4 separate regions of the Homo sapiens genome follow, and regions 1, 2 and 3 are each linked to region 4. The links are contacts of gene promoters, found by promoter capture Hi-C in human tissues and cell types (Jung and others, 2019). All regions are on one chromosome and are shown on one strand. Each heading gives the region's core, a stretch centred on a gene start or on the middle of the fragment in contact. The rest is flanking DNA. Distances are from core to core; before and after follow the strand shown. Region 1 overlaps ZNF805 (zinc finger protein 805). Region 2 overlaps ZNF329 (zinc finger protein 329). Region 3 overlaps ZNF547 (zinc finger protein 547). Region 4 holds the start of ZNF776 (zinc finger protein 776).

The links. Contacts are between HindIII fragments. The study calls those that stand out against the background at their distance.
Region 1: a contact is called between a fragment that was not itself captured here and the fragment with the promoter of ZNF776 in region 4, in 1 of the 25 tissues and cell types used here (hippocampus).
Region 2: a fragment that was not itself captured here is called in contact with the fragment with the promoter of ZNF776 in region 4 in 2 of the 25 tissues and cell types used here (aorta and liver).
Region 3: a contact is called between a fragment that was not itself captured here and the fragment with the promoter of ZNF776 in region 4, in 2 of the 25 tissues and cell types used here (H1 embryonic stem cells and dorsolateral prefrontal cortex).

Annotation. Positions count from the first base shown.
Region 1 is chr19:57,258,480-57,264,156 of GRCh38, reverse strand. ZNF805 (zinc finger protein 805) reads right to left here. Exons shown (of 4, transcript NM_001023563.4): 4 at 1,429-5,677. Among named protein-coding and RNA genes, the nearest start is that of ZNF460-AS1, 19 kb to the left of the region's middle. RefSeq lists an enhancer at 415-948. The HindIII fragment of the contact is 9,939 bases long and covers 1-5,677 here.
Region 2 is chr19:58,131,718-58,137,233 of GRCh38, reverse strand. All of the region lies in intron 3 of ZNF329 (zinc finger protein 329), which reads left to right. Among named protein-coding and RNA genes, the nearest start is that of ZNF329, 16 kb to the left of the region's middle. The HindIII fragment of the contact is 9,893 bases long and covers 1-5,516 here.
Region 3 is chr19:57,368,493-57,374,024 of GRCh38, reverse strand. ZNF547 (zinc finger protein 547) reads right to left here. Exons shown (of 4, transcript NM_173631.4): 2 at 5,446-5,481; 3 at 2,117-2,243. The coding sequence starts at 5,469. Among named protein-coding and RNA genes, the nearest start is that of ZNF547, 7.7 kb to the right of the region's middle. The HindIII fragment of the contact is 8,803 bases long and covers 1-5,532 here.
Region 4 is chr19:57,742,719-57,748,658 of GRCh38, reverse strand. It overlaps ZNF776 (zinc finger protein 776), which reads right to left and starts at 1,844. Exons shown (of 3, transcript NM_173632.4): 1 at 1,568-1,844. The coding sequence starts at 1,600. RefSeq lists an enhancer at 1,783-1,832. The HindIII fragment of the contact is 15,716 bases long and covers 1-5,940 here.

The DNA.
Region 1 (5,677 bases), core at 3,178-5,677, 490 kb after region 4:
ATTATTCAGGTATGGTGAGGCCAACAGATCAGGAGATACTGCCATTGAAGAGATGCTTAGCTACACACACTTCCCAAGAAAGGGGCACACACCAGGCAGTGTAGGACCACATGCGGAAGCAGCAGGATCGGAAAAACAGCAGGAGCTGGGGGAAAGCATGGGCAAGAACCTTCACTGTGCTTTTGCAGGTAAGAATGGTCAAGACAAGGTAAGCAAGCTAAGCAGGGTTAGGCTTGGCTTTTTAATTTTATTTTATTTTGAGACAGGCTCTCACTCTTGTCACCTAGGCTGGAGTACAGTGGTACCATCATAGCTCACTGCAGCCTCAACCTCCTGGGCTCATTTAATACTCCCACCTCAGCCTCCCAAGTAGCTGGGAGTACAGGCATACACCACCATGCCTAGCTAATTATTATATCTTTTTGTAGAGATGGGGTCTCACTATGTTGCCCAAGCTGGTCTCAAACTCCTGGACTCAAGTGATCCTCCCACTTCAGCTTCCCAAAGTGCTGAGATTACAGGCCTGAATTTCATTAGGAACTGTCCCTACTTGCTTAATATCTGACCCTGGAGTGGTTATGGCAGGAAGATAGTGGCTCCATGTGTGAGGCCTTGATAAAGGGGGTGGGGGAAGGGAATGGGCACTGAATTGTTTGGTTGCATATCAAAGGCACATACCCAGGGGAGTCCTTTGCTACCACTTAAAATTAGCTAGTCCTGGGATGGGCAGTCTCTCAGGATCAGCAAGGCTCCACTTGCCAAACAGCAGAATAGCCAGTACAGTGGCTCATGCTTGTAATCCCAGCACTTTGGGAGTCTGAGATGGGAAGATTACTTGAGCCCAGGAGTTTGAGGCTGCAGTGAGTTATGATCGCACCACTGCCCTCCAGCCTGGGTGACAGTGAGATCTTCTCTCTCAAAGCCAGCATAATAAAAACATGTGAATACATGGATCTCCAATTTAAGTGAGGCAGAGTGGCTATGAATGTCCTTTCCAGCAGGTAGGAACAAGGACAGAAAGTATAAGCAGGTAGTCTGTCTCCCAGGTCCACACTCTTGACACTACTCCGAAAGAGGCAAAAGAAACTGTCCATTTACAATTTAGCTGAGACCTTCCAATTGTGAGATATGAAACACAAACAGATTTTGCTATGAGCAAAAATAATCCATCTCTTAGCAATCATTAAAAATATTCAATTCTCAAAATTGAAATACATCACTGAGCATTGTGGAGCCTCCCCAACTTTCCACAGTGGAAAGGAAAGGCTATCTGTGGGCCGGAGTCTGAGTACAAAGAGGAGTTACATATACAAGAGACCAGATTTCTCAAGGTCTCTAGCATCATGTCTCTGTAAGGGCCCTCTCAGCTGAAGCCAACTGCTCCCACTTCCTCCAAGTGAAACTCACAGACAGATCCATCAAAGTGACTAAGCCTGCAACAACATATTCTTTAATCTCAAATTATCCACATTTAATGATAAATTATGGCGAACTCCATATTCTTCAACTATCTCTGTTGTAGCCAGAAGCTACAACTTTCAATAGCAAGAACAAAGAGTGGATGAGAAACTGACATACGTGCTAGGGAAAGAACACGGCATTTACCTACCCATCACATCTTTGCCGAAATAAAGGCCAAGAAAGGGTGTATCTGCAAATCAAACCACTTGAAGCCTATCTGTGAAAGATACTAGGCAGAGGCAAGATCCTTTCTCACAAGACTTCCTCTGTTCCCTGTCATCACTGAATTAAATCCTGGCTAGTTTGTTAAGTATTTTCACTGTGACTCTGACTTTTTTTTTTTTTCTTGGTTACAATGGTTTACACGTATATAAGCCTTCATCTCAAAGCTATGGCTTATTTCTGTTATAGAAAATTTTATTTGCTTAATGTTTGTTACAGAAACTTAAGCTAACTCAGCATTTTTCCATTTAAGTTACTGTGAAAAAGAGAACAGAGCAGGCCAGAGACTGCTATTCTTTGATCTTGCAAGGTTCATCCTTGGCTGGAGTCTGTACTTTAGGTTTTGGGAAGTTTCCCATTGTTCCCAGTAATGAGAAGTAGCTCCGTGTGCCTAAATTGTCTTACGCTGAACACCTCCTGTTCTTCTGGAGGTCTACAATTGTGGTATGTGCTAGAAAGCAAGTCCAATATAAACTCTGAGCAATGGGTGCTCAAGACGACTTCCTGGAACACATCTCACGTGTGTTGTTTTAAGTCCCAGATGGAGCTTCAATGAAGCACATCCTGTGTGATTTCATTAAGATTCTCAAAGATTGTGCCTGGTTTCCTCTGGACTTGGGTTTGAGCCTTTTGCTGAGTTTGCTCTGGATTCTTTCGGTGTGGTAAATCATAGCCATTGAGTATGACAAAATGCTGAGTCCTGTGAGTCTTCCTAGCAAATCAAATCTGGAAGGGGTCTTGAGGACTCCAGCATTCATTTATTATGATTTCTAAAATTGTGTACGTAGGTCCATAAAAGTCCATGTAGATTCTCTTCGAGGTCAAGGTACGCCATATATGGTGCCACCTATATGCACAGCTTTGTGGTAAACGCGCTGAGGGAACTGAAAATAATAATAAAAAATACCCTGCTGTGTATGGCCATTTACCAACACACACATATATATTGAGGGTCTACTACGGAACAAAAAGGAATGGGGCAGTGGCCGGACGTGGGAATGATAAAGGAAAAAGAAATGGCCACAATGTGTCTGGTTTGAGTAACATGACAGAAATTAGGGGGATACACTGATGTTCTTCAGGCATCTCAAACACACCTAAAACAACATGCATGCCTTAGCCCTTCTCTACTCCTTCTCCCCACCCCTCCCACATATCCTCAAACCCAGACATTCTCCGTCTTTTCTACAGTCACAATAGCTTATGCAGGCATTAAAGAGTGAGTCTGGTTTATCTCATTTGCTTGAAGGAATGGCCAAGATGTACTGTCAAATAAGAATAGTAGATTATAAATAAATGAGCACAGTTTGACCCATTTTAGTAAAAACAAGTGATGACCAGGAAACAAAGACCCACCTTATGAGAAGCAATAAAGTGGTTAAGGACATGGATTCTGAAGCCAGTGCAGTGGCTTCCAGTCCCCAAACCCAAATTTCATAATTGTGAAATCTTTGACAAATTCCTTAATCTTTCTGTACCTCAGTTTTCTAATCAGTTAAAGGGGGGAAATAACATTATGGAGTTGTCATAAAGGTTAAAAGAGCTGACGCATGTAAAACATTCGAAACAATGTCTGATACACAGTAATAATTTGTGTTCTCTTATGATGATTATGGGTGCATCCCCACGGCCAAGGTCATGGCCACATGATACATGCATATAGGCTCAGTGAGTGCAAATACAGAAAAGGTGTGGAAGGATGACCAGTGGTTAACGACATGAGAAACATCCAACCTGGAGACACAGATTTAGGGAAACACTGTAGATAATTGAGAGTAAAGTGTCTTCAGCGCAAATTAACTCAGTCATGGGGTGAAGGACAAGTTAGAAAACAGCAATGATCATGATGGATGCTGGGAAGTAAAGCTGTTTTACAGATGGAAGAAAGACACAGACCCTAAAAAGGAAAAAAGCCAGGAATTCACAGAAGCCAGGAAAGGACCTTCAAGTCAGAGATTTAGCAGTATGGAGGTCCAAAAAGAGAGTGAGGGGGTCAAAAGGGACCTTTCTGAGACGTGCTTAAGTCAGGCAACGGTGGTGGAAGCCATTTAGTAGTATCTGGGGAGTAAAAGGAAATGTAAAGGGGTGGCGACAGTGCACAGAATAGTTACTCAGGGCATGTGTGTGGAAGAAAGAATAACCAGAGCTTGATAGGCAAGGAAGGGTGAAATAGGTTGGAAACGAGGCTTGAGATCCGACTAAAGCTATACATTATGGGAAAGAAGCTGGTTAATAAGGAGAAGTTAAAGACTAAACAAGAGTATGAAAGACAGAGGACTTAGACAAGTTTGGTTGGGGAAGGGTGTGTGTGTGTCTAATAAAAAAGTGTAAGAGTGATCTTAGAAAAGGAATGACCCCTTCTCCATTGAGGATATAACAAGGCTTACAGAGCTGGAGGATTTTACATACAACCTTCCCGTGGAGTACGTAACTCTGAATGATATGCAGATCACCCTGATATAAGATCTGTTGACAGAAATATTTAAGAAGCCCAATATAAAAGATTACAGGACTTCTACTCCTCCAGATAATTTAGGATTTCTATTCAAATATTGAGACAAACCACCAGAAAACCATGACTCTGGAATTTAGTTTTTTCTGTTTTCTGAGCCCTTTAGTATTATAAACTAAGCAAAGAAATCAAAGATGTACAAAAGAACCAAATGGAGGCCAGGCACAGTGGCTCACACCTGTAATCCCAGCACTTCGGGAGGCCGAGGCAGGTGGATCACCAGATCAGGAAATCGAGACCATCCTGGCTAACACAGTGAAACCCCGTCTCTACTAAAAATACAAAAAATTAGCCGGGCATGGTGGCGGGCACCTGTAGTCCCAGCTACTCGGGAGGCTGAGGCAGGAGAATGGCATGAACCCGGGAGGCAGAGCTTGCAGTGAGCAGAGATCGCGCCACTGCACTCCAGCCTGGGCAACAGAGCAAAGAGTCTGTCTCAAAAAAACAAAACAAAACAAAACAAAACAAATGGAAATTAAACAACTGAAAAATACAAAAACCAAAACGAAAACTCATTGGACAAGCTCAACAGTAGACTGCATATGGCAGAAAAAAAGAATCAGTGAGCTGAAAAAAAGTCAACAGAAATTAACCAATATGAAAAAAAGGGAAAAATAGACCAGAAAAAGGGGGTAAACATGAAAGCACAAGAGACCTCTGAGACAGTAACAAAAGCTCTACCATTCATATCACAGAGAGGAGAAAGAGTAGGGATGAAAAAATATTTCAAGAAATAATGGTTAAAAATTCCCAAATTTGGCAAAGGGCATAAACCGACAAATCAAAAAGCTAAACAAAAACCAAACATGATACACTCAAAAAAATTCCATGTCACACACCTCATAACCAAACTTCTGAACACTACAAAAAAAACAAAACACTTTGAACGCAGGTTGATAAAAATGGCACATTATGAACTAGGGAACAATGGTTCAAATGGCAACAGATTTCTCATCTGAAACCATAGCGGACAGAAGGAACAAACATGTTTCTCAAGTACTAAAAGAACTGCAGACCCTAAATCCTATTATCCCACAAAAATATCCCTCAGGAATGAAGGGAACATAAAGACACTTTTAGAGACACCAGCAGACTGACCCTAGAAAAAAGGTTACACAAGTTCGCCAAACAGAAAGAAAATGTTAATAGAAGGTGGCTTAGAATTTCAAGAAAGAATAGTGGAATGGGTAAAGAGATCAACAAGCAATACTTCCTGTGACTTTTGTAAAATATATTTGACAGTGGAAGCAAAAATTACATTTTCCAACATGGTGCTCAATTTTGAAGAGGAATTACTTTAGACAATTATATTAACAGGCAAGGTGAAGGGACCAAGTAAGGTTTCTATACATCAAAGTGCTAAATTTTTCATACCATTAACTGTAATTATGTTACATATGTACATTATACTACTTAAAGCAACCACTAAAAAATTAATACAAAAATACAAAGAAATATATTTAAAAAACACTACAAATATAT
Region 2 (5,516 bases), core at 172-2,671, 390 kb before region 4:
CATTGGTTTAGTCCATAGTTCTTTCCCATAAGTTGTAAATTGAACAGTGAGATCACTAGTCTTCGGTCTTCTTTTCTTTTAGTCAATTATAATCAAGTTAATGGTGAGCCCTAAAAGTACAACTACATAAAAAGTCCCATTTTTTACATGTTTAAACTGTTTTTTTTTTTTTTTTATCTGTACTTACAAGGTGTTGAAGGTGGGACTTACTCCTGAATCTTCTTTCTAGTGGTGGAATAAGGTACATATCACTTTGAGTTTATGGCTTGTCCAATGAGTTTACAAGCAGTAGGTTGTTTATTGTTGGAGGATCATCAGTCATACAGTGAAGCCAACAAGACCATTCTGAGGGCACCATGCGTTACCCACATCCCAGAATGTGTTATTGCCATTCATTTCAATGATACATAGAACCCATCAGCGATGGCCTAAAGAAAATCTGTGGGCAGCCTTGGAGACCACCATGGCTGTTGACTTGCTGCCATCTGTAGCTTCAGGACCCACAGTAACTTCATCTTTAGTCCCTTTTTTTTTTTTTTTTTTTTTTTTGGAGACAGTCTTACTCTGTCACCCAGGCTGGAGTGCAGTGATGCGATCATGACTCACTGCAGCCTTGAACTCCTGAACTTCTGGGCTCAAGGGATATTCCTGCCTCAGCTTCCCAACTACCTGGGACTAAAGGCGAGTTACACCACCACACCCAGCTAACTTTTTTTTTCTTTCATAGAGACACAGTCTTACTATGATAATCAGGCTGGTTTCAAACTCCTGGCTTCAAGTGATATCCCTGCCTCAGCCTCTAAAAGTTCTGGGATTACAGGTGTGAGCCACCATGCCTGACCTAGCCTTCTTTTTAAAATATAGGCATTAAAGACCAGCATTTTCAATCTAGGAACTATTAGCTGCATTCTGCATTCTCATTTGCCACATGTTTTGAGATGTGCTGTTTTCATCATTGTGTAGTTGTAGGTGTTTTCCTTTTCTTTTTTTTCTTTTTTTTTTTTGAGATGGAGTCTCGCTCTGTCACCCAGACTGGAGTCAGTGGCATGATCTCGGCTGACTGCAACCTCTGCCTCCCAGGTTCAAGCGATTCTCCTGCCTCAGCCTCCCGAGTAGCTGGGAGTACAGGCATGCGCCACCATGCCTGGCTAATTTTTGTATTTTTAGTAGAGATGGGGTTTCACTATATTGGCCAGGCTGGTCTTGAACTCCTGACCTCGTGATCCACCTGCCTCTGCCCCCTAAAGTGCTGGGATTACAAGGCATGAGCCACCGTGCGTGGCCTGTTCTAGGTGTTTTGTAATTTCTATCAGGTTTTCTCTTTGATCTGTCAATTACTGAGAAACAAGTTTTTATTTTTCCAAATAAATAGGAGTTTGCTTTACTCGCTGTTTTATTATATTTGGTTTTCTTTCTGTTACTGGCTTTTAACTTGCTGCCTCGAAGTCAAGAGGCTGTAGTCTGGGCTTTGTTGAACTTTTTCTTTGACCTAGTCAGTGTTAGCAAATATTCCACTTGTGCTTAGAAAGAAAGCATTTTATTTTAATTTGTACGTAGATTTTCATCCAGCTGTGTGATCAGATTGGGTAACTACATTCTGTCCTGCATAACTCTTTTCCATTCTTCTGCGTTTTCATTTCTAAAAGAGGTTCATTAAAACCTCCCACCTGCCGGGTGCAGTGGCTCATGCCTATAATCCCAGCACTTTGTGGGGCCGAAGCAGGCAGATCACCTGAGGCCAGGAGTGCGAGACCAGCCTGGTCAACATGGTGAAACCTGTCTCTACTAAAAATACAAAAATTAGCTGGCGTAGTGGTGGGCACCTGTAATCCCATCTCGGGAGGCTGAGGCAGGAGAACTGCTTGAACCCGGGAGGTAGAGGTTGCAATGAGCCGAGATCGTGCCACTGCACTCTAGCCTTGGCGACAAGAGTGAGACTCCGTCTCAAAAAAAAAAATTAAATAGATAAAATAAAACCTCCCACTATGGCTGGTTGCAGTGGCATGTGCCTATAGTCCCAGCTACTCATGAAGCTGAGGCAGGAGGATCGCTTGTGCTCTGGAGTTTGAGGCCAGCCTGGGCAACATACTGAGACCCCCATTATAAAAATTAAACAATTACATTAAAACATTTTTTAAAATTTAAATATAATCTGAGCTACTTGATCAGAAAAAAAAACCTCAAAAAACAGATAAATAAAATTTCCCACTATCCTTAGATTTGCTGTTTTCTTCCTACAAACCTAGCTGGCTTTGCTCTGTGTTTTTTTGTTGTTGATTGTTTGTTTGTTTGTTTTTTGAGATGGAGTTTTGCTCTGTTGCCCAGGCTGGAGTTCAGTGGGTCAATCTTGGCTCACTGCAACCTCTGTCTCCCAGATTCAAGCAATTCTTCTGCTTCAGCCTCCTGGAGTAGCTGGGATTACAGGCATGTGCCACCATGCCTCGCTAATTTTTGTGTTTTTGTAGAGACATGGTTTTACCATGTTGGCCAGGCTGGTCTTGAACTCCTGACCTCAAGTGATCCGCCTGCCTCAGCCTACCAAAGTGCTGGGATTACAGGCATGAGCCACCGCGCCCGGCCTGCTCTGTGTTTTGAGGCATGTTGTTACTGTTACATTGCCCTGTGATCCTCACTTGAAATTTTTCTTTGGTTTGTAAAGAGCCACAAAACCCTTCTTTGTTTGGCATTCACCTGTCCCATCCTTTCACTTTTGGCTTTTATGTCCTTTTGCTTTAGGAATACCTGTTACAAACATGTTTTTTAATACAGTCTAATGCAGTCTTTATCTGACCCATCAAGGCCATTTATATTTATTGTAATTGTTGATACCTTACTTTACACTTTGTATTTAGTCTGTCCTTTTTGTGCTGTTTTTTACCCCTTACCAGCTTTCTGGATTGATCGGGTTTTTTGTCTGTTTGTTTTTGTTTTTAATTCTGACCTCCCTCTACAATGTTTTTCAACTTCAGTACTATGGACATTTGGGGCTGGATCATTTTGTGTTGTGGAAGTCCATCCTGTGCATTATAGGATATTTAGCAGCATCCGTGGCTCCTAGGAACATCTGCCCCCTAGTCAGACTGACAACCAAAATCATCTCCAGATATTGCCAAGTATCTTCTGGAAGTAGAAACATCCCTGGTTAAAAACTACTGCTCTGTGGGCTTAGATGTTTTATACTACATTTATTCTTTTAATTCTGACTTGAGCAGGTCTAACATGAATCATGAGAAACTTGAGGACTTCAGAACACTTGATTCTGTTGCCCCATTCCCACCTCATTGGCCACTGTTGTCTAGTATATTAGTCTATCCCATTAATTCCAAGTCGTGATTTCTGCATTTCATGTGGTCAGCATTGGATTTGATTTAAATATACATTCATCAGTTTTTTTTTTTTAAGAGATGACATCTCACTGTGTTGCCCAGACTAGTCATAAATGCCTGGGCTCAAGTGATCCCCCCACCTCGACCTCCCAAAGTGCTGGGATTACAGGTGTGAGTCACCACACCTAGCCCACATTCATCATATTCATCAATTCCTTTGTTTTTCCTTCCTTCGTTCTTGGGGTTTTTTTGAAGAACAACATTTTCTAATTCCTCTGGCTAGTATCCTTGGAAATGAACTCTGCTTTTGCTTTTCTGAATTTTTTTTTTTTTTGAGACAGTCTCACTGTTGTCCAGGCTGGAGTGAATCATAGCTCACCGCAGCCTCAACCCCTGGAGCTCAAGCAATTCTCCTACTTCAGCTTCCCAAGTAGTTGGGACTAACAGGCGCATGCCACCACACCCTGCTAATTTTTGTATCTTTTGTAGGGACGGGGTTTCACCATGTTGCCCAGACTGGTCTCAGACTCTTGGGCTCAAGTGACCCATCCACCTTGGCCTACCAAAGTGTTGAGAGTACAGGTATGAGCCACCACATCCAGCCTCTGAAACAGTCTTTATCTCACCTTTGCTCTTGAACAATAGTGTGACTGATAGATTTTTTCCTTCAGTGCTTTGAAAGTAGCCTTCCGTTACCTTTGGGTTTCCAGTTTTTCTATTAAGTGATCTATTGTAATAATTTTCGTCATTCACTGGTGGTTTCTCTTCTCTCTGCTGGCCTTTAAGACCATCTATTGGCCAGGCGCGGTGGCTCACGCCTGTAATCCCAGCACTCTGGGAGGCTGAGGCGGGCGGATCACGAGGTCAGGAGCTCGAGACCATCCTGGCTAACATAGTGAAACCCTGTCTCTACTAAAAGTACAAAAAATTAGCTGGGCGTGGTGGCAGACACCTGTAGTCCCAGCTACTGGGGAGGCTGAGGCAGGAGAATGGCGTGAACCTGGGAGGCGGAGCTTGCTGTGAGCTGAGATCGCACCACTGCACTCCAGCCTGGGTGACAGTGCAAGACTCTGTCTCAAAAAAAAAGAAAAAAGAAAAAGACCATCTATCTACGTAGGTATGGATTGATGTTCGTTTATCCAGCTTTCTGACTCTGAGATACCTACCAGTGGAACTGCTGGGTGGTAGAATATACCTAATTTATGTTTTCTTTTTTTTTTTTTTTTTTCAGACGGAGTCTCGCTCTGTCCCCCAGGCTGGAGTGCAATGGTATAATCTTGTCTCACTGCAACCTCTGCCTCCTAGGCTCAAGCGATTCTCCTACCTCAGCCTCCCGAGTAGCTGGGATTACATGCATGCGCCACCGCGTCCAGCTAATTTTTGTATTTTTAGTAGAGACATAGTTGCCCAGGCTGGTCTTGAACTCCTGACCTTAGGTGATCCACCTGCCTCAGCCTCCCAAAGTGCTGGGATTACAGGCGTGAGCCACTGTGCCTGGCTTAATTTTTGTATTTTTAGTGGAGGTGGGGTTTCACCATGTTAGTCAGGCTGGTCTCGAACTCCTGAGCTCAGGTGATCCACCCACCTCAGCCTCCCAAACTGCTGGAATTATAGGCGTGAGCCACCGCGCCTGCCCCCAGTTTATGTTTTCACAGCTGCCACTAAGGTACCCTGCCAAGCACGCTGACCACTTTCCAAGCCCTCTTCCCTTGTGACCTACCAAAGCTTTATATTATTGTACTTCATTTTATTTTTACTCACGTGAAATGTGTATATTTTGTGTTCTTAAAGTCGCAGTTTGGAATTGCCTGAATGATAGAATGAGAAAATAAATATTGATGTTTTCAGGACATTTCTTTTTTTTCTTTCTTTTTTTTTTTTTTTTGAGGCAGAGTCTCGCCCTGTTGCCCAGGCTGGAGTGCAGTGGCGCTATCGCGGCTCACTGCAAGCTCTGCCTCCCGGGTTCATGCCATTCTCCTGCCTCAGCCTCCCAAGTAGCTGGGACTACAGGCGCCCGCCACCACGCCTGGCTAATTTTTTGTATTTTTAATAGAGACGGGGTTTCACCGTGTCAGCCAGGATGGTCTCGATCTCCTGACCTTGTGGTCCACCTGCCTCAGCCTCCCAAAGTGCTGGGATTACAGGCGTGACCCACTGCTCCCAGCCAATGTTTTCAGGACATTTCTATTT
Region 3 (5,532 bases), core at 3,033-5,532, 380 kb after region 4:
GTCGGAGCCCCCACACAGACTCCCTACTGGGGTACTACCTAGTGGAGCTATGAGAAGAAGGCCACGTCCTCCAGTCCCCAGAATGGTAGATCCACCAACAGCTTGCAACGTGTGCCTGAAAAAGCCAGAGACACTCAATGCCAGCCCATGAAAGCAGCTGAGGGGGGGTCTGTACCCTGCAAAGCCACAGGGGCAGAGTTGCCCAAGACAGTGGGAGCCCACCTATTGCATCACTGTGCCCTGGATGTGAGAGATGGAGTCAGAGGATATCATTTCAGAGCATTAAGATTTAATGACTGCCTCGCTGGGTTTTGGACTTGCATGGGGCCTGTAGGCTTTGTTTTGGCCCATTTCTTCCATTAGGAATAGGTACATTTATCCAGTGCCTCTATCCCCATTATATCTTAGAAGTAACTAACTTGCTTTTGATTTTACAGGCTCATAGGCAGAAGGGACTTGCCTCATCTCAGATGAGACTTTGGACTTGGACTTTTGGGTTAATGCTAGAGTGAATTAAGAGTTTGGAGGACTGTTAGGAAGGCATGATTGGTGTTGAAATGTGGAAGGGACATAAAATTGGGTGGGGGGGGCCGGGGTGGAATAATATGGTTAGGCTCTCTGTCCCCACCCAAATCTCATCTTGAATTGTAATCCCCATAATCCCCACGTGTCAAGGGTGGGACCAGGTGGACAGAACTGAATCATGGGAACAGTTTCCCCCATGCCGTTCTCATGAAACTGAGTAAATTCTCATGAAATTTGCTGGTTTTATGTGTCTGGCATTTTCCCTGCTTGGACTCATTTGTCTTGCCGCCCTGTGAAGAAGATGCCTAGTTCTCCTTTGCCTTCCGCCATGACTGTAAGTTTCCTGAGGCCTCCCCAGCAATGGGGACCTGTGAGTCAATTAACCTCTTTCCTTTAGAAATTACCCAGTCTTGGGTATTTCCTAATAGCAGAGTGAGAATGAAGTAATACAAACACTAAGGCCAATGAGAAGAAGGCCTGCTGTGCAGAGTTGGACCTGGCAAATACCCATAATGGGAGAGCCCTGATGATGGGTAAGAACACAAGAGAGGGGTACAGTGCAGAGAGGAGGAGGGTCTCCAAGTCACTTCTCTGCAAATGGCTTTCCACAGGCCATGGCTGCTGGTGACTAGTGAGCAGTGTGTAGAAGGCTGTGTCTAAACCCAGAGAGATCTGATTGTGACAGAGGAGATGGTGTTCAGGGACTACTGACAAATACATGCAGACCTCACCTTAAGTACAGGTCATGCAGTGGATGGCACTGCAGAGGGAGCAGTTGAAGAAAATAGGTAACGGCTGGAAGCCAGGGATTAGAAGTCAGAGTAAAAATGACAACGGGGGAAGGAAAAGAAGAGTGAGTTGTGGCAACCAGTCTTCAACTAAACAACAGGGGTCACCAGACAGATTCCTAGTAATATGACCCCAGCTGTGATATTACACCTTTTCCCAACTCCCAGGAACCAGGATCATGTCCCTCTGAGTCTCTACAGCCCTTCAGGGAGTAATATCCACCCTCTTGGGTACCAGGGCCCTCCCCATTGCTTAAGGTGACAGTCTGTGAGACCTGAAAGAGACCAGTCCTAGGGGAAAGACACAGAAAGAGACAAGACAGCACATTCCCAGAGAGATCACCTGATGATATCTCACATTCGATAATCACCAGAACTTCACAGAAGATTTCTACATCCTACACAATCAAGCCAGTGGTTCACCAAATTAGTGATCAGGTCAGTGCCAGAAATTCCAGGAACAAGAAGGGACCAAGAAATATTGGCAAGAGCAAGGGAACAACAGAGCACAGAGGTCTCATGCATTTGAATAGAACACAGGGCCAGTGGGTCTCTATGTCACCTTCAACATTTCTGGATCCTGAGCCCTTTCTTGCAAGCCTCAGAACAGCAGAGGATGGGGCTGCCAGGAAAAAGGAAGCACACAGCACATATTGCAGTCCTGACTCTCATGGAACATATGTCAGGAAACAAGGAAAAGAAGCAGCACCCATGGTCTCACTGTGGGAAACGCAGAGCTGCCTTCAGGTAAAAGGAGACAACACAGCCCAACCCAGGACACTGGGCAAGTGTGAGGGCCTTACCTAGTGAGGACAAAAGGGCCAAATTCTCCAGCATCACATCACGGTACAGCAATCTCTGAGCCTCATCGAGATGCCCCCACTCCTCCTGGGAGAAATATATGGCCACGTCTTCAAAAACCACATGACCCTGCCAAATTGGGAAAGATGAATACATGAGCAGCTTTTCAAACTGTATTTACTTAAGTTCTCTATTTATTTTCTACTTATATTTACCACCCATTAAACACAGGGACAAACTAACAGCTAAATGTGTTTCCATCTCCCCTACCATCCTGGGCACATATTCTTAACCATCTCCATCTCTAACTTTCTCAAACCAAGTCAGTATTTCCCATGCTCTAAATCAACCCAGGGACAGGTACTGCACAACTAGGGACAGTCCCAATAGCCCAGGTGTCCTGGAATTACTAAAACTAGCCAAACTATCCTGACAGCCAGCCCTGCCTTGTTTCCCTTGGAAACCCCAACAGCATCTGTGGACTAAACTAAACTCACTCCAATTTTCCTCCTGATCAAATCTGGTGTTTCACCGTGTGGCCCTGTGTTATGTGGTATGTAACCTCCTTAGGGAAACGTAAGGAATAAATATCTTCTTTCAGTGTCATTGGCCTGTCCCTGGCATCACTCACTCACATCCATAAATTAAAACTCCATGGGGGCCAGGCACAGTGGCTCATGCCTATAATCCCAGCACTTTGGGAGGCTGAGGCGGGCAGATCACCTGAGGTCAGGAGTTCAAGACCAGCCTGGCCAACACAGTGAAATCCCATCTCTACTAAAAATACAAAAATTAGGTGGGCATGGCGGCACATGCCTGTAGTCCTAGCTACTTGGGAGATTGAGGCAGAACTGCTTGAATCCAGGAGGTGCAGGTTGCAGTGAGCCAAGATCATGCCACTGCACTCCAGCCTGGGTGACAACACAGCAAGACTCCATCTAAAAAAAAAAAAACAAAAAACCCCAATGGGTACAATCACTGCTACTTTTCTCTCTCCAGGAACTCATCCCTCTCCCCTACACCTCCTTTCCTTCCTCAATCTCTACACCCTCCCAATGTGGAAGAGAAACCACATCCAGGTGGCATGAGTGACTTTTCTCTCCATATTGACATTGGCCACCGTGTCCAGCACACAGAGGAAACAGATGGAAGATAAGGTAGAAAAGGAATGTGGGCCTCCCGTGGGGGGATCCATCCTCTCCTGCCAGCCAGTTTCCATGGAGTCACCCAGATCTTGCCTCCCAAGACAACCAAACTCAGACTCATCCTCCTCCCTTGAGCTACCAGGGCCAGGGCCTGAGGCCCTCCATTCACACTCCTCCTGCCTGCACATCACTCTTTGGACAGCACTCCAATCCCATCTCTCACACCTCCACTCCAGTCAATTCCACAGACACCTCCCAGCCCACACCACAGGCATTTCCTTCACCTCCTAACAGGCCACTCTGCACACAGAAACCAGGTGGTGCACGGCAAATACGCTCAGCATCCAATTCACTCCCAGTCCTGCCCCAGAACACCAAAGTTCCCTAGCACCGGGGGCAGCCCTAAGCCCTGGGTTGAAGGTTCCCTACATGGCCCTGTTTCTCACTTCACTGTCAGGTGCCCAAACCATGTGAGGACTTCACATACTCTCAGCTGTGTCCTGCCTCATGGACACAGGATTGTAAGTTTCCTGAGGCCTCCGAGTTATGCTTCCTGTTAAGCCTGAAGAACTATGGGCTGGGTGCGGTGGCTCACGCCTGTAATCCCAACACTTTGGGAGGCTGAGGAGGATGGATCACGAGGTCAGGAGATCAAGACCATCCTGGCCAACATGGTGAAAGCCCATCTCTACTAAAAATACAAAAATTAGCTGGGCGTAGTGGGGTGAGTCTGTCGTCCCAGCTATTCAGGAGGCTGAGGCAGAAGAATCGCTTGAACCTGGCAGGGAGAGATTGCAGTGAGCCGAGATTGTGCCACTGCACTCCAGCCTGGGCCACATCTCAAAAAAAAAAAAAAAAAAAAAAAAGAACTGTGAGTCAATTAAACTTCTTTTCTTCATAAAGTACCCAGTCTCAGGTAGTTCTTTGTAGCAATATGAAAACAGACTAATAGAATTCCCATCCTCATCTCATTCCAACTGATGCTTAGCAACTCTCCGACCTCACCCTATTACCCTCCTCAGCAACCCCATCATGTCCACTCTCCTTCAGAAGTCTTTCTCACTCCTATACCCCACCATCTCACATACACTCATCCCCACAAACACTCCATTCCCTCATTTGTCTAGTGACTCCTCCACCACTGCACAGCTACCCAGTAAGAGACCCAGTTCTCATGCCCCATTCCAATTCTCTGTCTTCGAACAGCACTGCCACCATAACCTAGAGATGCTGTCACCTAAACTGAATCCATGGCTTCATCCTGGTCCATACGACAGCCACCATAGTGTGGACGTCTCCAACCTGAACTCCTCCACCAGGAGTCTCTGAGACATCTGTGGCTTGAACAAACACTGACTCCTCACACTCACTCTGAAAATTCCTAATACTGCTGACTTCTCCCATCTTAGCTGATGGAGCATCTATGCTTCCAAACAAAAACCATGGGGCCACTCCTGATTCCCCTTCTATCCCACCCCCCCAGCTGCCTCACTCTCTACATCATAAAATGTGGGCAGCTCCAGTTCAAAACACATCCTGAAGCCACCGCTACTCTTGACAAGTCACCACCAACATCCACCTAGACTGCTGCAGGAACATCCTCTCAGATCTCCCTGCCATTACCCTCACCTCCACAGTCTGTCCTCCACTCAGACGCCAAAGAAAGTTCCTTAAGCTAGGGTCCTATCACTGCCCTCTTCTGCTTCAAATCTTCCCCATCTACCACCTCCCTTAGATTAGAGACCCAGGACCTAGGCTGTCATTCCAGGCCTGATGTTTGTGTGTCTCTAGCCACCTCCCACTCTGCTCCCTATTCCTATCCGATATAACAGACACTTGCAGTTCCCTAAAAATCCAGTTCAGTCTCTCCTCTAAACACTGAAACATTCTTAATCTTGTGCCCATGACACTCTGACAGATGTTACCACGTCAACTGTCAAAAATGGGAGCCACTCCACATAATCCAGGGCCATCCAGGTAAGGTGTCACAGTAAACTTAAAACAATCAAACAAAAATCCCAGACCTAATTTAAGATACTAGAACTGGTGGAATCACTCACTTTTCAGACATAAGAGAGGGAGAAAGACAGAAAGAGAGTCTCTGGACACCACTTTTCTTTACATGGAGGTGCCAAAACCATCTATGAGATAACTGGTAGGTGAAAGGTAGAAAACACTCCACTCACCTGTGCAGGGTTCATTTCTGCCATCGCCAGGGGACCCTGAAGGAAGAGGGAAACCGTGAGAAATGGGCAACGATGGGAAGATCTTAC
Region 4 (5,940 bases), core at 595-3,094:
AAGCCCAGTAACATTACCCAGGGACCCAAGCAACAGATGCAGTCCTCATCATTCAACCACTGCTTTCTGGTCCCCTAAAAGATTTACCACCAGAATCTGAAGTGTGTTCTCCTTAATGTGACCCATGGCTCACTCACCATAGCATACACATTAGCTACCATATATTAGATGTCTCCAGTGTCAATCCCTTTCCAGATACCCCAACCTGCATGTCCATAGCCATTTGATGCCTACACTTATTCGTCTCTGACTCTTCATATGGCCATAACAGTCATCCTGATATTTGCATAATATTCTAATTATGTTTATTACCAACATGCTCATCTCAGCTGATGCAGCTTCCATAGCTACAGCTACTAAGACCAAAAACCTCGGGATCCTGATTGCTCTCTTCATGCCCTTACTTTGTGTATTAGGAAACCTAGATGCTGTAACAAAATATCAACTTTGAATCCAGCCACATCTCCTTAGCCATGAATCTTAGTCTGTTAACCCTCACTTGGATTACGGCAAAAGCCTCAACTCTCATCTTATTTCCTCCTCTCTCAACCCCACAGTCTGTTCTCCACTGTACAGCCAGAGGAGACTACAGCCAGATGAAACTGTGGCAACATCACCTCCTCCCTCTGGTCAGTTTCACCTCTAAGCATTTCACATCCTGGTACTAACTCCTGGGTTAACCTTCCAAGTATGTTTATACTGGTTGACAGAAATGGGAATACCTCCATATATCCTGTGTCACAGACTTTGGATCCTGGGTTTAAGGTTCCTCCAGGGTTCCCATATCAAAAAACTTAAAAAAAAAAAAAAAAAGGTACCTAAGAATCCCAGGACATCCCAATCTAAAGAGCATGTGGATAGGAGTTAGGGCCAGTGAGGGAATAACACCCTCCGCTTCCCTGCGGAGGTTCTGCAAGTGCTTCTGCAGCCAGGAGTTCCTGAGAGGAGAGGCACAAGCTACAAGAATGTATCCCTGATGAGATTTGATAAGCTCAGGCCTCCCTGAACTCTTTCTTGGCCCTGTAACTAGGTAAACGCGAGTTGGTTGTCTGAACTGAGCGCCTCAGTACAAAATGTCATCTCTTAGCACCTATCTGATCTGTAGAGGTTGAACAAGAATTCAACCTCCCAGGGCCCAAAAGTCATCCCCTGTGTTCTTTTTCGACTGGACTTTGGGAAACCTTTAAAGCCTGGACATTGATCTTTTCCTTCCTTTGTTGGAAGCTGTCCATGGCTTCCAGCGTTCTCAGGGTGAATACACGGTCCTCAGCCTGCTCTTCCAGGAGGAGCTCTGCCTCACACTTTGCTCCCGACAGGTGCCTGTGGACCCTAGGTTACGATCCTCTCGGCTCAGTTCATCTCCAGGCCTTTGCCTGCACCGCTCCCTGTGCCTGTAGCTCTCCTGAGCGCATCCCGCGGGTGTCAAAAACGGGGGCCCATAGAGAGCGCCTCAGTGTCCCGACGCCGGGTTCAGGGTGTAAAACCTTGAGCAGGCGCCGCTTCCTCTCTGCTTTTGGACTTAGGTAAAGATGAGGTGACCTGAGGGCACGGAAGACGCCACAATTACCTGAGCCGGGGGCCTCAGCGCGGCCGCCGCCATCCGACTGGGTGGGGAAAGCGGGGTCGAAAGGAGGGGGCGAGCAGTGCAGGTACCCGGGCACGGTGGTCCCGATCCCGGCCTTGGTGCGGGTCACGCCTAGCGCCTTTAAGGAGCTGCAGAGCAGCCTCTGTGCAGTCGGGACAACGTCTCGTCTCCACCTTCTGGGTTCAGTCACTTCTACACGACCCAACACTCCGCGGTCTCTCACTGGAAAATACACCCAACACCAATCAAAATGGCCACTAGTAGAGGACGCCGGAAGTCCCACCTTTATACTGTTTCCGCGGAAACGCCTTTATTTTGAGCCCTCATTGGCTCTGACGCGCTGTCATTCGACGCAGAGATTTCTGGGTTATGTAGTTTCCTCAGGTTCCAAGACAGTTCCAAGGCGGTAAAGAAGGCCTTCTCAGAGGCGCTTGATTGCACAGAGTGGTGAATAAACACTACTCTGGCCTAAGTGTCATCTTCCCTCAATTTGACTATACTTCTGCATGTATCTATTTCATGTCTATTTTCTCCTTGAAAGTCTATATCCCCTGTCAAACTATGCTGTCAGGTATACCCTACCATCACGTTCACTTACTTGCAGGAAAGGCCCAGCTCCATCTCAGCGGCCTGTCCTTAAAGTGCATGTCCTTCTAGGGTAGAGGATAGTCTCACCTAGCCTTAGAACCCGTATTGAGATTTTTGGAGATTAGTGTCTGTAACTGATCACTCAAGTATTTGAAAAAATATTATTTTAGATTTTGGGGAACTCGAGCTCTCCGATGCTAAACTTATTATTTAGGATGCCCCCAAAGACTAAAAATCCAAATTATCATAACGTTTTGAACAGTCTTTCAGTCGCAAAATCCCGGTACTGGCAGCAGAGGCTGATAAACATTATTGTGTTATAAATTCACATGAATGCACTCTGAGGCATTAGAGTCAGTTTCTCAGTCTGTCAGGGACAAGAGAGAACTAATCCAGATAGGACAAGACAAGGAAGATAGAGGAGAAATGTTGTGTTCCCTAAAGCAGGAATACATGCTGAATCTCTGTCTGTGATTCCCACAGAAGACAACTCTCCTGCCTATAAAATCAATCATAGTGTCCAGTACATTGAGCAACACTTTTATCCACTTAGTATCCCTCGCTTGAGATTCCAACTTATATTCAATTAATTCTGGATTAATTTATCTAAGATTTATCAATCTTACAGGAAGACCAATGAAAGAAATGCTATTTTGGTAGTGATAAATGGCTGCAGTTTTCAAAGGTGGGGCACGTATGCAGAAGATGCTCTCCACCTGTTGATATTGGTTGTGTCTTAAATCCAGGAGTTCATGTTATTGCTGGGAAGTGGCTATTTTTTTTTTTTTGTATTAGATAAAACAGACTTTATTTATTTCTTTTCTTTTTTTTTTTTTGTGACTATTCTTTATTTCTGTTTCCATGGCAAGGAGTGTTTTGCCTAATAAATTAATGTTATGGATGGGATTACAGGCATGAGCCACCATACCTGGCTAATTTTGTATTTTTAGTAGAGACGGGGTTTCTCCATGTTGGTCAGGCTGGTCTCGAACTCTCAACCTCAGGTGATCCACCTGTCTCGGCCTCCCAAAGTGCTGGGATTAAAGGCATGAGCCACTGTACCCAGCCGCTCAGTTCTTAAAAAACCTATGTCTTCTATGTTCAGGGAGAAGAGGCATTTAGAGCAAGAGCTTACTCATTCTCCATTTCTGCTCAGAAATAAAACTTGCTTGCCTTTTTTTTTTTTTTTCCCAAATTGGGTGTTCTTTTTTTTGTGACCAATACAAAGTAGGGAAAGAACTCAGTTTATTGGTAGTACAACTTAAAAAAAAAAAAGCATGTTTAACATTCCAACTTTCATAGTCCTGTCAACTTTTACTTTATGTTGTAGTCCCAGGACTCTTCTCTCCAGACCATTTTACCCTTTCTTGTGCAGATGTCTTCAGGTTTCCACCCAGGGTTCAGGCCAGGAGACTTTGGCCTTTTTTCCAAGTGCTACCTTGATTAACCAGTCTAACCATCACCCTAGGCATTCCAGGTGGGGTTTCTCATTATATCTTTACCTTCTGGCTTTTAAAATTTATCCAAACTTCAGGAACTACAGCAACTTAGCTTAAGGCCCTTTAATGTTGGGGGATCAACAGGAACTTCCTTTGGTCCACCCAACCTTCAATAGTGTTATATTCAGAATTTTGTTTTAATCCGATCAGTTTTTATTTTATTCATCTAATTTCCATCTAATAGCCATCTAAAGATTTCCACCATGCTGGGATGAGTATCATGATTTCCCCCTTTTCTTTTTCCTCTTAGTTTCATTCCTATCCATGTTTTCTTTATTTGTCTTATTTCTTTATAACTATTTAAAAATTTCTACCTTCCTGGAAGGAGCTGTTTGACTCTCCCCTGTACCTTTCATCATTGTCTATCTTATTAATTAATCTAATGGTTTTATTAGCATCTGAAAGGCCCATAATAGGAAGCAAATTTGGTAAGACTGACTATAGCTCAATTTTGCAGCAGTAAGTTTACATAAGGTGCCCAAGAAAATGGGGTTCCCCAAACCAAGACATTTACCATGACCTGGGTAATAAACATATTCAGTAGGTAAATATTCCTATCATCATAATGCCAGTTCCACATGGCTTGCATGGGAAGCATATTAAGCTGGTTCATCTGGGGAGCCCCACTTGGCATTTATAGGGGGAGTCAGACAGTCCCGCTTTTCCGAGTAGACAGACTTCAGAGTAGCTTTTATACACCCACCCAGGCTGGCTGTTCCTTCAGGAATAAACTCTTGTGTGTGTGGATGATACATACCTATCTGCAATTGTTGAAGAGTGACCTGTAGGTACTACATCAACCCAAACATGTTCTTCCACTCTGCATTATTTAAAACCAAAGATGTTTCCCCTAAGTTAGTTATTCTCACTATCCATGTTAGTAAAGGTTCCTGAGGAAGCTGACGATACTGGTCTATAAAATGAAACAATTCCTCCACACTATTGATATAGAACCAGGCCTGTTCTGTCCATCTCACAGTATGCCAATCACTGAGATGATGAGTCTTGCAGCAGAGAAAGCATGTATTTACAAGGCTGCCAAGTGCAGAGGTGGGAGAACAGTTCTCAAATCTGCCTCTTTGATGATGGGATTTAGAGATATTTATGGGATAAAGAAGCCTGTCGGCCGGGCGCGGTGGCTCATGCCTGTAATCCCAGCACTTTGGGAGGCCAAGCCAGGCAGATCACAAGGTCAGGAGTTTGAGACTAGCCTGGCCAACATGGTGAAACCCCGTCCGTACTAAAAATACAAAAATTACCTGGGCATGGTGGCGGGGGTGGGGGCACCTGTAATCCTAGCTACTCAGGAGGCTGAGGCAGAAGAATTACTTGAACCCGGGAGGTGGAGGTTGCAGTGAGCCGAGATCGCGCCACTGCACTCCAGCCTGGGCAACACAGTGAGACTCCATCTCAAAAAAAAAAAAAAAAAATTGACCTGTTCTATCTCCAAAGTATGCCTGTATAAAGTTATTGATGCAAGAACATATTGTACCTTTTGTAATGGATTTTTCCAAATATATACACAAATACAAAGGACTATGTAATGAAGTCCCATGAATTCTTCCTCAATGATCCATTATTATTTATCATTGCATGGTGGTTTGTTTTTTTTTTTTTTTTTTTGAGACGGAATCTCGCTCTGTGACCCAGGCTGGAGGAAGTGGCGTGATCTTCGCTCACTGCAAGCTCAGCCTCCCGGGTTCATGCCATTCTCCTCAGCCTCCCGAGTAGCTGGGACTACAGGCGCCCGCCACCACACCCGGCTAAGTTTTTGTATTTTTAGTAGAGATGGGGTTTCACTGTGTTAGCCGAGATGGTTTCGATCTCCTGACCTCATGATCTGCCCGCCTCGGCCTCCCAAAGTGCTGGGATTACAGGCGTGAGCCACTGCGCCCGGCTTTTTTTTTTTTTTTTTTGAGACAGAGTCTTGCTGTGTCGCCCAGGCTGGAGTGCAGTGAGGCAATCTCAGCTTACTGCAACCTCCACCTCCTGGGTTCAAGCAATTCTCAGGGCTCAGCCTCCCAAGCAGCTGGGATTACAGTGCCATTACGCCCGGCTAATTTTTTTTTTTTTTTTTTCTTTGAGACGGAGTTTTGCTCTTGCTGCCCAGCGTGAAGTGCTATGGCACAATCCTGGCTCAACACAACCTCTGCCTCCCAGGTTCAAGCAATTCTCCTGCCTCAGCCTCCCGAGTAGATGGAATTATAGGCATGTGCCACCACGCCCGGCTAATTTGGTTGTGTGTGTTTTTTTTTTTTTTTTTTTTTT